2 separate regions of the Homo sapiens genome follow, and region 2 is linked to region 1. Evidence: promoter capture Hi-C in 16 types of primary human blood cells and fetal thymus (Javierre and others, 2016). All regions are on one chromosome and are shown on one strand. The core of a region is centred on a gene start or on the middle of the fragment in contact, and the rest is flanking DNA. Distances in the headings are between cores, read along the strand shown. Region 1 holds the start of MED13 (mediator complex subunit 13). Region 2 holds the start of CLTC (clathrin heavy chain).

Region 1 (7,601 bases), core at 1,362-3,861:
ATTCAATGCAAAAGACTCAACTTCAGCAGTGGCTGAAGTGACTCAAAAGTTACATCTGGCTTCTAAACTATTACACGACTTTGTTAGGAACTCTGTTTCCTGATTCCATTTTTTTAGATTAATGTAACATGCCTTCTTCGGGCCCTAACTACCTGTGAGAAATTAAGAAGAGAGGTGGTGGAAGGAGAAAGTCATTCACGCCTTAAAAACCCAGCTATAACAACATGGATAATTTAAGTAAAATAAAATAATCATGGTGAAATAAAACAATGAAGCTGAATTTTTATCTGGCCTCCTAAGTCTCCCACAAAAACAAACTTAATTTGTAATACATATGACATTCTGGGAGAAGTATACAATGTTGCTATATCATTAGTTAGAAATGGAAAGTTTCTTTCACCTGATAAGTCATGGTGAATAAGGTCAGCAAAACTGGGGTCTTCACCCCACCAAAATATCCACAATTCTCTTCTTCCAGGTCTTTGATCTCGCCGCCAAACACCAAGTACATCTGCCTTAAGGCAGCGACTAAAACTGCTCAAAATGGGGTCTTCTTCTGTCACAGGAAACAGAATAGGGGCAGAAGTTGGGCCTTGCCATACATATTTTTTCCACTTAATTCCTGTCAAGTCAGCCTGAAGGAAAGAAAGCATTAAGTTTTATTACTGCATATTCACTCAAAGTCAAAAGTACTCAATATGATGTCTCTTATTTCATTAAGACATTACAATTTTTCAATGTATGCTTGAGATATTGACTGCAAATTAGAACAAAAAAAGACTTTATAATTCAACAACCAAGAATTTTAGGGAGAAGAATACAGTTAAAAATTACCACCACCATGTCACTGAATAGCAAGCAAATATGTACTCCAAGTAGAAACAGAAGAAACTGAATGATGTTAAATATAGACACACACTTCAATATGCAAACAGAGTACATTTTTCTCTGTCCTAACTGGTCACATTTGTTCACTGGTGTCAAACTTTTAACTGAAAATCAATTATTAAAGACCCTATCATGGGTTTTTATTCCACATTTACAGAAGTAACGTCTCTAATGAAAAGACATCTGAACAAGTTCTGAAAAAATCTATGTTAATTCTTCACACACACCCCTGTCGGAAAAGTCAAATAGCTACTCACAAAGAACTGTCAGATTTGTGCTAGTCTATCTTCAAAGAACTGATCCTAAAAGTACCAAAAATAGACTGAGTTGGATAAGATAGAAATATAAAACCTGGTGTATGTCTTATTACATGTGAAGAGATGCTGATTAATGGACATTGAAAAGAAAAACATACTGTAGACGAGGATAGAGTATTAAAGATCTCAATTTAGCATGGGCGTTAAGAAATTCGACAAGAGGAATTCAGTAATTTAATCTAACTTAAAGGAGCAAAGCATAAGGTGCCAAAAATGAAACTGCTGATACATGACTGGCAGTTTACACTTGCCAACTAGTTGTGCTCCTCCCACTTAACTCACTTACCTATCATATACTCTTAATATTTCTCATAGCACAAAGGAGAAAATGAAAAAGTAAAGTCACCCAAACTTAAAGTCATTGATGAAGCTCAGCTACTGTCCCATACAGGACAAGTTATTTGCAACAGTTGGTACTTCTGAAAGCCTTAACTGTTGGATGTTACCAGACCTGGGCTAACCTACACAATGATCATCCCTACATCCCGCTTCTCTCGACTTTCCATTTCAATCAAACAAGGGAGCAGCCTGCTCAAAACATTCTGAAAAAGCAACCAAAACACAATAAATATAGAAACAGTGCAAAACCACAGCACCTCGTCCACTAGCCCCCTTCACTCTCACAAAAACATCATGTTCTAATAAAAGCAAGATGGCTAGAAATTGTCAAAAATGGCAAACTGTTTTCAAAGTTTAAAAAGAAAACATATGAAATGGCACCTACTGGCTTTTACAGAGAGATCTTAAGTCACCCAAGAAAGAAACTAACCTGGCGTTAGTTTGACTCATACAAAAAAAATGTAAAACCAAGACAGGTTTCTAGGGCTTAAGTTCTGGGGTCCTGTTTACATGGGGAAACCAAATTAAAAGGGTAAGACATAAAGGCGGTGGGGAGCAGGGGCAATAATGTAAAGTGTGAAGCAGGGATACAGGGCCAATAAGGAGAAAAGCAACAGTTAAGCAAGACAAGAGGGAAAGGTTACTGTCCTGCCAGATAAGGAGCTCAAGTTGAGGACGAGACTACGGTGAGAAGGAGAGTCCGAAACAAGACGAGAAAAAATGCCAACACTCCCCTAAACAGAGCCCGGGACCGTAGGAGAGCGAACGCCGCCTCCCGGGGCTGGCCGCGGAGCTTCGCAGGGCGCCGGCTCCGGCTGGGCCTCGCCCGGGAACTCGGGCATCTGGACCAGACCCGGCCCCCTCCCCCACGGCCCAAGGGCGCACCTCGCGGCCCCCCTCCCTCGGCGCCCGCCGGCCCCGGCACTCACCAGGCAGAAGAGGTTACAGTGACAATCTTCCAGGCTGGCCCCGTTCGGCACGAAGGAGGCACTCATCGTCCCTCACAGCAGCCGCCGCCGGCGCCACAACCCACCATCCGCCATTACCGCCGCCTCCGACCAGAGAGAGAAACACAGACACCGGGGAGGGCCGGGGGGGGGGTAGTGGTTGGGGGGGCGGTGGAAGAGGAGGCCGCCGGGCGCCCGCCCTCCCCACCCACCCCCCCGCCGCCGCCGCCGCCGCCGCCGCCGCGAGCAGCCCCCGCCGCCCGGCCGGCACCCAGCCGCCCGGGGCCGAGGGCCGGAGGCGGGAGGGCCGCGCCGCGCTCGCCTGGCGGGCCGGACTGCGGATCCCGCAGACGCTCGTCCCTCTCTGGGGGACGGAGGGGATGTGTGCCCCTACCACAAGAAAAATAATAAATTACACAATAAATAATCAAAATCAAGTCCGAGACGGCAGAGCCCAAGCCCAGGACGGTTCTCCCGGGCGGAGAGGCGCCCGCACAGGAGCGGGAAGGGCGAGAACCGGGAGAGAAGCCCAGGCCCCCGGCGCGGCAGCGGCGATGTCCTTAAGCCCAGAGTCTCCTCAGCGGCGGAGGTGGTGGCGGCGTCTGCGGGCTCAGACCATTCTCTGGCTCTGTCTTCGTGTCGTTCCTGGGCCAAGCCGGCCTAAAGTTTGCCCTCCTGTGGCCTCACCGGCTGGACGCCGTAGTCTCCCCCATTTTGTGGGCCCAGCGGGCGGTGTTTTTCCCCCTTTAATCCGAATTCACGGGTTTTCCCTTCGCTTTAATGGCGGCCACAGGGACCAGCTCGCCCTCTCTGCTCACCCATTGGCCGCCTTGAGGTCACGTGGGCCCGGGCTCGGTTGGGAGGGGGAGAGAGAAGTGAGCGAGGGAGGGCCGGGAAGCTTTCGGCGGAGGCGGTGAGCTCGGGGGACGGGGCAGCCAGCTGGTGGCCACTAACATAGCGCCATCTGCTGGGTGCCCCGGCCAGTATAAAACGACCCGGGGCCCTGGCCCTCTCTTTGCGGGGAAATTTACAGTCCAGGAAGGTTCATTTCACAAATCAGTGAGAATTACGTGGAAATCAGTTTGAGTTCTTTGGAAGAGAAAGTATTGGCAAAAATTCCAAGACATTCTCATTTATTTCGCGAGGCCGCTGGGGTGCAGGTGCAAACCTCTGGATTTGGGAGTCAGATGATCTGGATGGGGATAAGACTCCTCAACCTAAAAGTTGTGATATGAAGATATAAATTTAAGAAACAAAATATTGCCCTGTAGTTAATAGACTGGGAATTAGAGCCACACTGCCTGGGTTCCAAGCTTGAGCAAATCACTTCCTGCTCTGTGTCTTTACTCATCTGTAAAATGGGGAAAACATATCCCTTACCCCACAAGCTTATTGTAATGAGTTAATACAAATTAAGCAGGTAGCCCAGTGCCCCGCACAGATAAGCACTGTTAAGAGTTAACTATTATTGTTGTCATCATTACCTCATATAGTTATTGTGACGAGCAGGAGAACTAGTGTATGTAAAGGTCTCACTATTTTTTTGTTGTTTACTTCTGTCTCTCTAGTGCCTAAAAAAAGGTTCCTAGCACACAGTAGGTGCTTGATATTTGTATAGTTACAAATGAATGGGTGGTAAGAAGTAAGAACCAAACAAAAGGTTTATTCTCTTTCCCATAAAACACCCAGTGCTTGGATGGGTTACACTTCAATATGAGTTCAAAACAGTTTCTCTGACGGTTTTAGGATTGCAAGAAAGAAAGAAGAAGAAAAAGATGATTCAGAAGTTAGAAACATCAGTGAGTTAGGACTTACTGTAATTTTATGTATTACAGATACATAATTATGTATTATGTATTACAGATACATAATTGTATCTGTAAAATGAATGGTAGACTCTTCCATGTCACTTCTTCAGCCACGGAATGAAAAGAAGTCCTCATTTATCCACTTGTTCATCTGTGGTGGTGAAGAGCCCAGATCTGAAGCCCAAAGCCTGGAGAAAAAGTTCTGCCCCTCACTAGTTAGTCTTAGATCATATTTGACCTTAGATCAAATTAATTTTGCTTTCTCTCGGTTATTGTAAAATGGGGGTAATAAAAGTACTTTTCTTCTAAAATGACTGGTGAATGAAACAATGTAGATACAGTGCTTGCCACAGTGCTTACTTAATGTTAATTATTAATGTAATTTTAAAAATCATTGAGAACCTGCTGGCTCAATTGAGTGTGTTCCTGCTCTGTGCTAGGCCTAGGATACAAATAGGAATAAGATACCTGCCTGTCCCTCAAGATTCCTGAAGAGAGGCACTAAAGGAAACATTTCCTACAGAATAAGGTAAAATACAATGGGGGTAATTGCTTGAATAAAGTATGTACCTACTATGGCATAGTAAGTGCACTAGAAGAAGAGCATCAAACTTAGAGAAGTTGTCATAAAGTAGGTAGCATTTGAAATCAGATTTGAAGGATAAAATGAATTCTTATAAAGCCCTTTGAAGCAGTTAAATCTTATTAAACCTAATTCGAACCCAAAGTCCACATATCAAAGTCAATTATGCAACCAGGACTAATTCAATCCAGGAGCTCAAATCAACTAAGGTTGGCATCCTTTATAACCGAGTGCCAGCACCAGGAGACAGCAATCCCCAGATCCAATGAGGTAAGCGCTCCTCTGCCCATTTCCCGTTCCCTGAAAAACTCCTCAGATCTTTGTTCCGCTGCTTTCCTCAGGCTGAAATGCCCTCCTCACATCTAAAGGGGTCTCCATTCTCCTTAGAAGTCTTGCCCTCCCATTGCCCCCACCCCCTGACTTGAGCACCATCCTCAGGATTCCAATGGCAGGTAGAATATACCTGAAACCTACCAGTAGGAGGTAACATTTGATTGACCTTTCTGTTTGAATGTCAATCTTTTCAAAAAGAAGAGGGAGACAAGGAGACAGAAGCGAAGAAGGGAGGAAGACCCAGAAGAAAAAGTCTGATGGAGGATCGCAGAAGGGAGCAGGAGAGAGAGAGAAAGACAGGACTGAGAGAATGGAGAAGCAGATTAGAATGGGGGGGATCCCAGTTGTGAGGGGAATGGAATCATTGGGAGAAGGGAAAGAGAAGAAATAAATATTTTCAGCCCACAAAGAACGTATCAGTAACCACTTACATTCGGTAAAAATGACATTTTGTGTGATTTAAAGAGTAATGGAGGCCGGGTGCAGTGGCTCACGCCTGTAATCCCAGCACTTTGGGAGGCCGAGGCGGGCAGATCATGAGGCCAGGAGATCAAGACCATCCTGGCTAACACGGTGAAACCCTGTCTCTACTAAAAACACAAAAAGGCGGGCGCCTGTAGTCTCAGCTACTCGGGAGGCTGAGGCAGGAGAATGGCGTGAACCCGGGAGGCGGAGCTTGCAGTGAGCTGAGATCGCGCCACTGCACACCAGCCTGGGCGACAGAGTGAGACTCCGTTCTCAAAAAAAAGAAAAAGAGAGTAATGGAAATACGGACTTTGGGTATACCATCCTGGTGGGGGATGTTGATAATGAGGGAGGCTGTGTATGTGTGGGGGCAGGAGTTATATGGGATTTTTAAAAAGTAATGGAAATAACTAAAAACATTACACACATATTGTCGGCCAGGTGTGCTGTGTCACGCTTGTAATCCCAGCACTTTGGGAAGCCGAGGCAGGTGGATCACCTGAGGTCAGGAGTTCAAAACCAGCCTGGCCAACATGGTGAAACCCCATCTCTACTAAAAATACAAAAATTAGCCAGGCGTGGTGGCACATGCCTATAGTCCCAGCTACTTGGGAGGCTGAGACAGGAGAATTGCTTGAACCCGGGAGGCAGAGGTTGCAGTGAGCCAAGATCACGCCACTGCACTCCAGCCTGGGTGACAGGGTGAGACTCTATCTCAAAATAAATAAATAAAAACATTACACACACATTGTCAAAAGTTTGGCAGATACATAAAAGCGTAAAGATGAAAATTTTAAATGTACATTACCCAAAAAAGTCCGTATCATTACCATTCATAATTAATCACTTTTTAACATTTTGATGTATTGACTTTTCCCTATGTATCTTTTTCCTACATGGTTGAGATCATACTATATGACCACTTAACTACCCACATGTATTAACCATCTAGTATGTGTCAGGTCATGTATTGACAAAATACAGCATATACAAGCAGCTCATAATCTTGCTTATAATGGCACTTGAACAGTTAGACCAACTGGGGTCAAAACTCCATACTTGGCCCAGCACGGTGGCTCATGCCTGTAATCCCAGCACTTTGGGAGGCTGAGGTGGGCAGATTGCTTGAACCCAGGAGTTTGAGACCAACCTGGGCAGCATGACGAAACCCCCCGCTGCAAAAAAAATAAAAAAATTAGCCGGGCGTGGTGACACGTGCCTGTAGTCCTAGCTACTTGGGAGGTAGAGGTGGGGAGGTTGATTAAGCCTGGGAAGTTAAGATTGCACCACTGCACTCCAGCCTGGGTGACAGAGTGAGACCCTGTCTCAAAAAGCAAGCAAACAAGCAGAACTCCATGCTTGCTAGCTCCCTAACTTCAATTTACCCCTTTGTTGAATGTGTATGTAATAATAGCACCTAAATGTCAGAGTTGTTGCAATGATTAAAAGAGATAATCCAAGTAAAATAGGAGCCAATCAGGAATTTTAAGGTTAATTTTAGAGGTTACTTTGGGTCAATAATCTGGGTCAATAATCACCGACTGTCTTCTGTTCTTTGAAATATGGATTCACTCAATGATCTGCATTTAAAACTGTTTTGTAACCCCTTCTGTCTTGTAGGGTCTCCATTCTGAATGAGATGGTAGAGGCACTGGCTTACAAACTACCACTTAGCCTCCAGGAAGGTGACAGAGTTACATCACCTGAGACAGACAAGTCCAGGAAAGGGCCCCTGATGCTCCATATTGTGATTCAGAATCAGATGATTCTGAAAAATCTGCAAGGTCTAGAGCAGCACTGTCCAATAGAAATGCAATGAGAGCTAAAACCTATTGAAATAGAAAAATAAATTTTTAAAAAAGGTACAATGAGAGCTAAATAAGTAACTTGAAATTTTTCAGTAGCCCTGTTAAAGAAGTAA
Region 2 (7,601 bases), core at 3,150-5,649, 2.4 Mb before region 1:
TAAAATTAATTTCTGAGTATGTGAGATATGCCTTTTCTTTGTGACTTTTGCAGTGCAGTGAATTCAGGCTGTTTTTAAAAGGTCAAGTTTTTAAAAGGCAGGGGCATTAGTGCTAGGGCTGCTTGAAGATGAACAGCTAATGGAGAAATCCTACAGTGAAAGGGGTTGTTTTTTTTTTTGTTTTTTGTTTGTGTTTTGAGGTGTCATTCTATTGAGTGTTTATATATATATATATATATATATATATATATATGTATATATCTCCATCCTAATTGTTGGCATAACATTAAAATTAGTGACACAACACAGGTTTCTTGTATAGGTTTTCAGAAACTAGCAGTCCTCAAAATAACAGACCAAGCAATGTAGTTTTTGCTAATGGCACTTGCTGTGACTCATGATAGTCTACTGTTGATGAGCATTCCAACTAAAATAGCTTTCACTTCACCATTGATTAACATGGCTACCTTGCTAAAACATTTTCTGAAACCAAAAGCTAGAGTGATCATTCATAGCATTGTCTTATTAAAAGACTATGTCATACTGTATCGTAGAAAAAGCCATTCTGGGTAGTAGGATTTGCTTCCTGGTCTATTAGGTTATCTGTTCTCCCTTCTAACTTGAGGTAATGTCTGAAAACAGTGCCATTCAGGTATTGCTTAGGTAACTAAACCAGTGAAACCAGTGAAACTGCCTTTATACTGTTACCAAGAACAGCAGACTCCCATTAAAAAAAAAAAAAAACTCTTATTACCCTACTCAAATTATTCATCTTTAAAAAGGCATAGGGTTTTTTTTTAATGTTTATCATCTTGACTTTTTTTTTCTCTTGAAAATTTTTGGATTAATTTGAAGATCATTTCAAAATGACCCAGGATATCACGATCTATTTTTCCTCTTCCTAAATTATTTCTCAAAACAGTGTAATTTCTATGTGTGATGACGTAGCAGTCACTAACAACCTCAGCGCACTTTTTGGTTAGATATTCCACTCCAAATAGCTAAAATCAACTGCTTTTGGGATTCTAAATGTACTTAAAGTTACAGGGTCTGTATGAAAATGCCAGACACTAATTAAATTTTGGTGGCCCATTCATGATACGGCTCTTTTATCTCCGGATTCTGAGATTGAAAAGGTGACTTGATCAAGCTATTGAATTACTGTAATAAAACAATTACTCCCTTAGAATTTTAATTTAGAATTTGTCTACTTCCAAAAAGGGTTTAAAGCAGTTATTACTAGACTGGCATTAGGTTATTTCAAATGTTGCGGAACAGAGGATCTTCGTGTATTTAGCTTAACAATACAAAAAGAAATTTTGCAAGCATAAATATTCACTCTTACAACATGGTGGCAAGGCTTTTCTTTGCAGAACAATCTTTGCCCTCTTACCTGCCAGACTCTTCTCTCATGCTCAGTATGTGAGACAGTTAAGTAAAGGGAAAAACACTAAAAGCAACTAAAATGATTGGCAAACTTCTCACTGTAACCTAAACTGCTTAGCATACAAAACTATCGTCTACCCAATAGGGTTTTATGTCCTTTAACTGAAAAGGACACTAAAAATAATTATTGTGGACTTGAGCTTTTCTCTTTCGGCGGGGCGGGGGGTGGGGGGGGAGAATCACCTCTCTTACAAAGATAAAAGGCACAGAACTAACGTCTTTCATCCTTTATTGTATTGGTGCGATTATGAAATATTATTATGGCTTATACTTTAGCAAGAAAGTACCAGAAAGGTTATTATTAATCGACAATGAATGCCGTTGATACCTTCATGCTCTTTGAAGACAGGATGCTCCGGCTTTGAAGCGCTACATTTCTACATTGCTAACCTACAGGAACCTATGTTGAGGTGGTCCCACCGAAATACACGGCTAATAGTTCATCTCTTTCCTCCAGGAACCTTCAGGTTTTTTTTTGTTTGTTTTTTTTTTGAGACGGAGTCTCGCTCTGTCGCCCAGGTTGGAGTGCAGTGGCGCGATGGAACCTTCGGGTTTTACTAAGCATCCTTACCCTAATTATCTAAATCTTTGAGACGTAAATTATTTGATGTGGCTAAAAATCCTCCTGCTAGAATTTAGGTCCAATCCTTTAATGTTCGGATACTCAAATTCTTTAACGAAACTGATCACTGAGCTAGGCCGACACAAGTCCGCCAAAATGTCCGCAGAAACGTTAAGAAAAGCTGTCATAAGGCCAGCTTGAAAGACATCATAAAAGGCCTTCGCTGTCCTTTGAGTTAATTATCTAACACCCGAAGAGAGTGCCAGTTCTAGTTAGAATCCGCGCGTCAGGTTCTCCAACAGTCAGAAGGGCTTGTGTGAGGGCAGGGAAGATTTTAAACCCCGTTTCAGGCCCCCTCCCTAGGCTGTAGGAAACCACCCACTCTGAAGCCCGGCGGGGGAGGAGTGCTGCAGCCAGCTGCCGAGGGAGCGCTCTGCGGCGAGGCCGTTTCCCTGAGTCACGGAGAGGGCGGGAGGCTGCGCCCGTCTGCCCCCGCCACGTCCTCCTGTGAGGGGCTCAGTCGAAACAGGCAGCGGTCGCAGGGAAACGAAGCGGCACCCGTCATGCCTCAAGGTGGCCCAAAAGCCTCTTCACTCCCAGGAGACGCCGCATTTCCTTAAAACGAGCTCTCCATTTCTGGCAGCAATCAGCCGACCCTTCCCCATCAGTATCACGTGCACCTGGAAGTACGTGGGTGGGACCTAAAGCGCCCACGGAAGTGACGTCGGTCGCCCCGAGTCGCATGATGTGGCAAAATGAAAAAAAAAAAGTGGGGGGAGAAAGAGAAGACTGGCGAAAGTGATGAGTCTAAAAAAGTAGTCCCTCCGGTTCCTCTGTTTCCCCCCATGTGGCGTCAGGAAGCGAGGCACCGGGCGCACTGCGCCCCGAATTCCTGCGCCCGCCGCGCGCGGCGCTCCGTGGAGGGGTACATAAGGCGGAGGGGGTGAGGCGACTGGGCGGAGTTCTGTCGCCGGGATCCTTCCGCTGGGCTCAGCCGTTTCCGGAGTCTGCGCTGCGCCCGGTTCCGCCATTGCGGCTCTCCTGGCCCCTGGAGCCTCCGCCCCCGACCCGAGCTCTTTCGTCTGCCTGCCAGTTTCCTGCGTCCCCGGAGAGGATCCTGCTGAGCCCAGCCTCCCCCCTCCCCTTCTCCTCCTCTCCCTTGGAGAGCCCGGGCAGCCACTGCCCCGCAGCCCCAGTGACAGGAGGAGACCATAACCCCCGACAGCGCCATGGCCCAGATTCTGCCAATTCGTTTTCAGGAGCATCTCCAGGTGCGGCCGGGCCCGGGCTGGTGAGGGCTGTGGAGAAGGTGGTAGGAAGGATGGAAGACGCTGGAGTCTGGGCCCGAGCAGTATCGGAGCTGGAGGGGCGGGGGGGTTGTCGGTGATTGGGGTAGGTGGAGGAGGGGGCACTATCTTGGAAAGCTTAAAATATTAAATGATGTGGGGCTTGGATGGAAAGGACAGGAGTTGGGGTGCAAAGAGCTGCAAGGACCAGGCCTGGATCCAAAGGCCTCTCGATCTTGCTTCCTGGATGGCCAGAACTGCGCGTACAAACTCTCTCCCCATTTTATTCATTTCATTCATTTGGGTAGGGGAGTGGGAGGGGGATTCTCCCTTGTTTCTACCAGAGCAAGGATTCTTATCCCCTGGGCCAGTGCGGGGCTGTCACCTTCCATTGCTCTCCTCTTTCCCTCATCGTGTCTGCACCCAGGAGTTGTGGGGCGGGTGGGTTGGGGAGGAGCAACCTTTTTTTTCCCTCCCTCTGCGGCTCTCAACTGAGAAAGGCACCTTCTCCGGTGGTGGGGGTTGGGGGTGGTGGTGAGGCGGTGGCTTTTCTCTTGCCTTCCCTGAGGCAGTAGGGACAGAAGGTCACTGAAAGAACGGAACGAGGGTAGAATGGGAGAACGCATTTCTTAGAGCTATGTCAATCTCAGAGTGTGTGCGGTCAAACTCCCTAAGGAAACTCGCCTCCCCTTCCCCCTTTTTTTATTTCTCTGGGGATGTTGTGGCTCTTAACCCCTCTTTGGTTCTGGAAGGTAGGAAAGAGTGATACAGAGGTTATCTTTTAGTCTTCTCGAGTAGTAGCAGGTAGTTTTGAATATCTTCTTCAGGATCGCATGGAATTGAACAGAGCCCTGGGGACAGCACAGCTGCTCTGAGACCTGCAGGGCTATTTGGTCTGTGACTGGCTTCCCTTTAGTAAGTTCTAGAGTTCTTCCCCATGGTTCCTTATCCTGGAGGCAACATATTGTTATCTGGCAACATGCCAGTGGCGGGCCTAGGCAGGTGACCATTGGAAGGCTTCACTGAATTAAACCTCTTCAGAGCTTTTGATTTTCCTGTGTCACCAATCCTGTTTTTTACTGTAGCTTAAATAATTTATTCCTATTAATTTGCTTTCTTCCCAAATATCCCCTTAAAGAAACCTGCCTCAGCTCAGTCGTCTGAAGGGCTAATTCCATAATGACAGGGAATGCAGTGGTTTGACATGACACTGATATCAGTGACCTATTAGACACTTTACCATTGAAGACCATTTTTATTTACATTTCCCCATTGGCATAGCATACATAAAGGATTCTTGTTAATAAAAGGTTTTAACATTCAGGCTATAAGTAACATAATTTCATATTTCTTTGCAAGTATTACCATGTTTGCACTAGCAAGGACTTATTTTCCTTTAAGGCTTGAAATGTAAAGAATAATAAATTTTTACCCATAAAATGAGTTAAATAATGCACTTTCCTCAGTCATCTATAATTTTCAAATAACTCATCTGAAGTAATGGAATATACCTTGGCAATAAAAACACTTTTACAGAGGGTTAAAAATGTTAAATAACAAAATGGACATTTTTTTTTGATCAATCCAAGTTTAGTTGCTGTGGTTGCTTTTGTTAAAGTGGGGTGGCAAATGAATGTGGAGAGTTGAGGGGTGCTGTTCTTAAGTGTGAGGGGAAAACGCGGGCTTATTTTCATATTAAACTGCATCTGAAATATCTTTCTGCAGACAAATGTTTATAAACCACACAGAGAATCAAGTACAGCTGCTCTTTATTTTCCACGGCAGATGTGTAGCTCACTACTAAATCTTGTGGTGGTTGGAGTAATAGCTTTTCATTTCTTTTAAAGAGGAGACAAGAATTGTTAAATGATCCCAAAGATTCGAACCCAACCTTGTCACTTATTAAAGACAAATTTAATACATGTCTGTTTTGTAACTGGATCAAAGTTTCTGCAGATGCTTGAATGAAGCCATTTTCTTCTCAAATAATTTGAAGATTTTGAATATAAAGCGATTTGCAAATTGAAAAATTCAGTCCTCTGTGTTTTGGATTGCTATGTCATGCCTAAACTTAAGCTTGCTTAGCTAATATGACTGTGCTCCAGTTGATTAATTGTGGAGCCCAAATAACTACAGCCTCTTTCATGATAATATATCTCCTAACTTCATATCATTATCTCCTCCCTTTTTAAAAATTAATAAGCATTTTGTTTTTTTGAGGAGACAGGGTTTTTGCTGGAGGTCAGTGGCACCATCACAGCTCACTGCAGCCTTGACCTACTGGGCTCAAGCCATCCTCCCACCTCAGCATCCTGAGTAGCTGGGACTACAGCCATGAGCCACCACACCTGGCTAATTTTTGTATTTTTTGTAGAGATGGAGTTTCATGTTGCCCAGGCTAGTCTCGAATGCCTGGGCTCAAGCAATCCTTTGCCTTGACCTCCCAAAGTGCTGGGATAATAGGTGTGAACCACCGAGCCCAACTAATAAGGATTATTTTAATTGGCATCTTTGGTCTTTGACCTCTGAGCTTCTACCAGTTTGCTAAGTAGCAGAAAACTTTCTGAAACACGTAGGATAAAAACTGGAAACAAGAAATGGGGAACTTAAGTGTGAGTGTAGAGTTACCTTGTGAAACTGTAAATGAACTTATTTTTATACCCTTTAACTACATTGTCCAACTGAAGGATCTCTTGTCATCAAAGCTTGGACCTACAGCAAATGAATGTGAATATATGAAGATTTCTCTTTTCCTAGACTGTTTAGACTGATAGCAGTTAATAAATGAGTGCCTATTTGAGCAAGATACTGTTGGAATTGAAGATTCTATAAAAATCCTAGGCTACATATATAAAATATTGCCTGTGATTCTTAATTTTTTGGTGATTTTCAATTTTCTGGCACATTAAGTATCTTTAGGCCACTTGACACATTCCATTGTATTCCTAGATTCTTTGGGTCTTCAATTAAAAATCTCCCTACCCTGTTCTTTCCCCTTTGATCCATAGATGCAGGCATGGAATGTGTTGTTGAGTCAAATGTTAGGGGTTCTTGCTATAGTTAGTTCGGATTGTGAATAGAAAGCAATGCTAAGTACTGGGATTTACTACATGCTTAGTTGTACTCTCTGGAAGAGGTAGACTTCCTGGAATTATGCGGCAGTCTCCTGGGAATAGCTTCTAAGTTTAAAATGTATCATATTCTTCAGAATTTTCTTGATGGTCAGTTTACCCAGCTTAAAGTGTGTGGTTAATTTTAGTGAAAGTGCTTTCACTCTGATTAGGAAATAAGACACAGAATGGTGTGTATGTAGAACACAATCATTTTCATTTGAGTATTTAGGAAAATTCACATTTCAGGAACCATGGTAGTTGCTCTTGAACAATTGTTTCTGACCATAATTGGAATTTGTACCTTGCTTTTAAAAGATTCCATTTATATCGAATCCTCAGCTTCTTTGCAAAATTGTTTTTTCCATACATATGTTTATATGTTATTCAAATTATATTTAACAAGGTGTTTTCCCTGTCATTGTTACCGTTGTGGCTTTTTCTCTTTGAGTTATTGTCCAGTAGAACTTTCTTCAATGATGGAACTGTCTACCAGCTACATAGGGATATTGAGCACTTGAAATGTGGCTGATGTGACTGAAAAACTAAATTTTTGCTTTAATTTCTTTTTAATTTAAATGTAAATAGCCACATGTGACAATTGACTCCTACATTGGACTGCACAATTATAGGCCATGCTGATGTGTTTTGTAAGTTTGAAGATTTATCTCACCACTCATGTTTATGTATTTAGAATATTTCGTTAGCTAAAATTAAAACACTCATTGTTCAAAAGTTTTAACTGAATACTGTCTGTCTTGGAAAGTGGTGGTGATGAACAATGACTAGCAGCAGACTTCTTGAGACCTTATTATGTGCTGTAAATTTGGCTAGGTACTTTCAGATCTTCACTCAATCCCCCCAGACACCTTTCTAAAAAGTGAGACTCATAAAGTAGTGGGAATGCTGTCCGAATGGGATGTGTACCTGAGTCTTCTGACACAAAATATTTCAAAGAAATTGGATAATTGACCTTAAAAAAAGAAGTTATACAGTATCCTAGAGTGCTTTTTGTCTGTTGGACTTAGGCCCAGAGAGGTGAGTTCTCTCTACTTGTTTATAGATTAACAATGTGGTATAGTAGACAGAACAGGGAGGGCTTTAGGGGTTGTTGAAACAAATGCTGTCCAATAGAAAAATAATATGAGCCACATACTTTTTTTTTTTTTTTTTTTTTTTTTGAGACAGAGTCTCACT

What was found. Contacts are between HindIII fragments. The CHiCAGO score rates a contact against its expected background, and 5 or more counts as called.
Region 2: a contact is called between a fragment that was not itself captured here and the fragment with the promoter of MED13 in region 1, in 1 of 17 cell types (fetal thymus). The highest score is 6.4, in fetal thymus.

Annotation. Positions count from the first base shown.
Region 1 is chr17:62,062,667-62,070,267 of GRCh38, forward strand. It overlaps MED13 (mediator complex subunit 13), which reads right to left and starts at 2,612. Exons shown (of 30, transcript NM_005121.3): 1 at 2,474-2,612; 2 at 401-635. The coding sequence starts at 2,539. RefSeq lists enhancers at 2,003-2,102, 3,013-3,272 and silencers at 2,253-2,532, 3,323-3,402. The HindIII fragment of the contact is 3,767 bases long and covers 1-3,387 here.
Region 2 is chr17:59,616,895-59,624,495 of GRCh38, forward strand. CLTC (clathrin heavy chain) reads left to right here and starts at 3,001. Exons shown (of 32, transcript NM_004859.4): 1 at 3,001-3,279. The coding sequence starts at 3,238. RefSeq lists enhancers at 1,435-2,247, 2,085-2,134, 2,145-2,264, 2,715-3,064, 2,794-3,088. The HindIII fragment of the contact is 1,938 bases long and covers 3,431-5,368 here.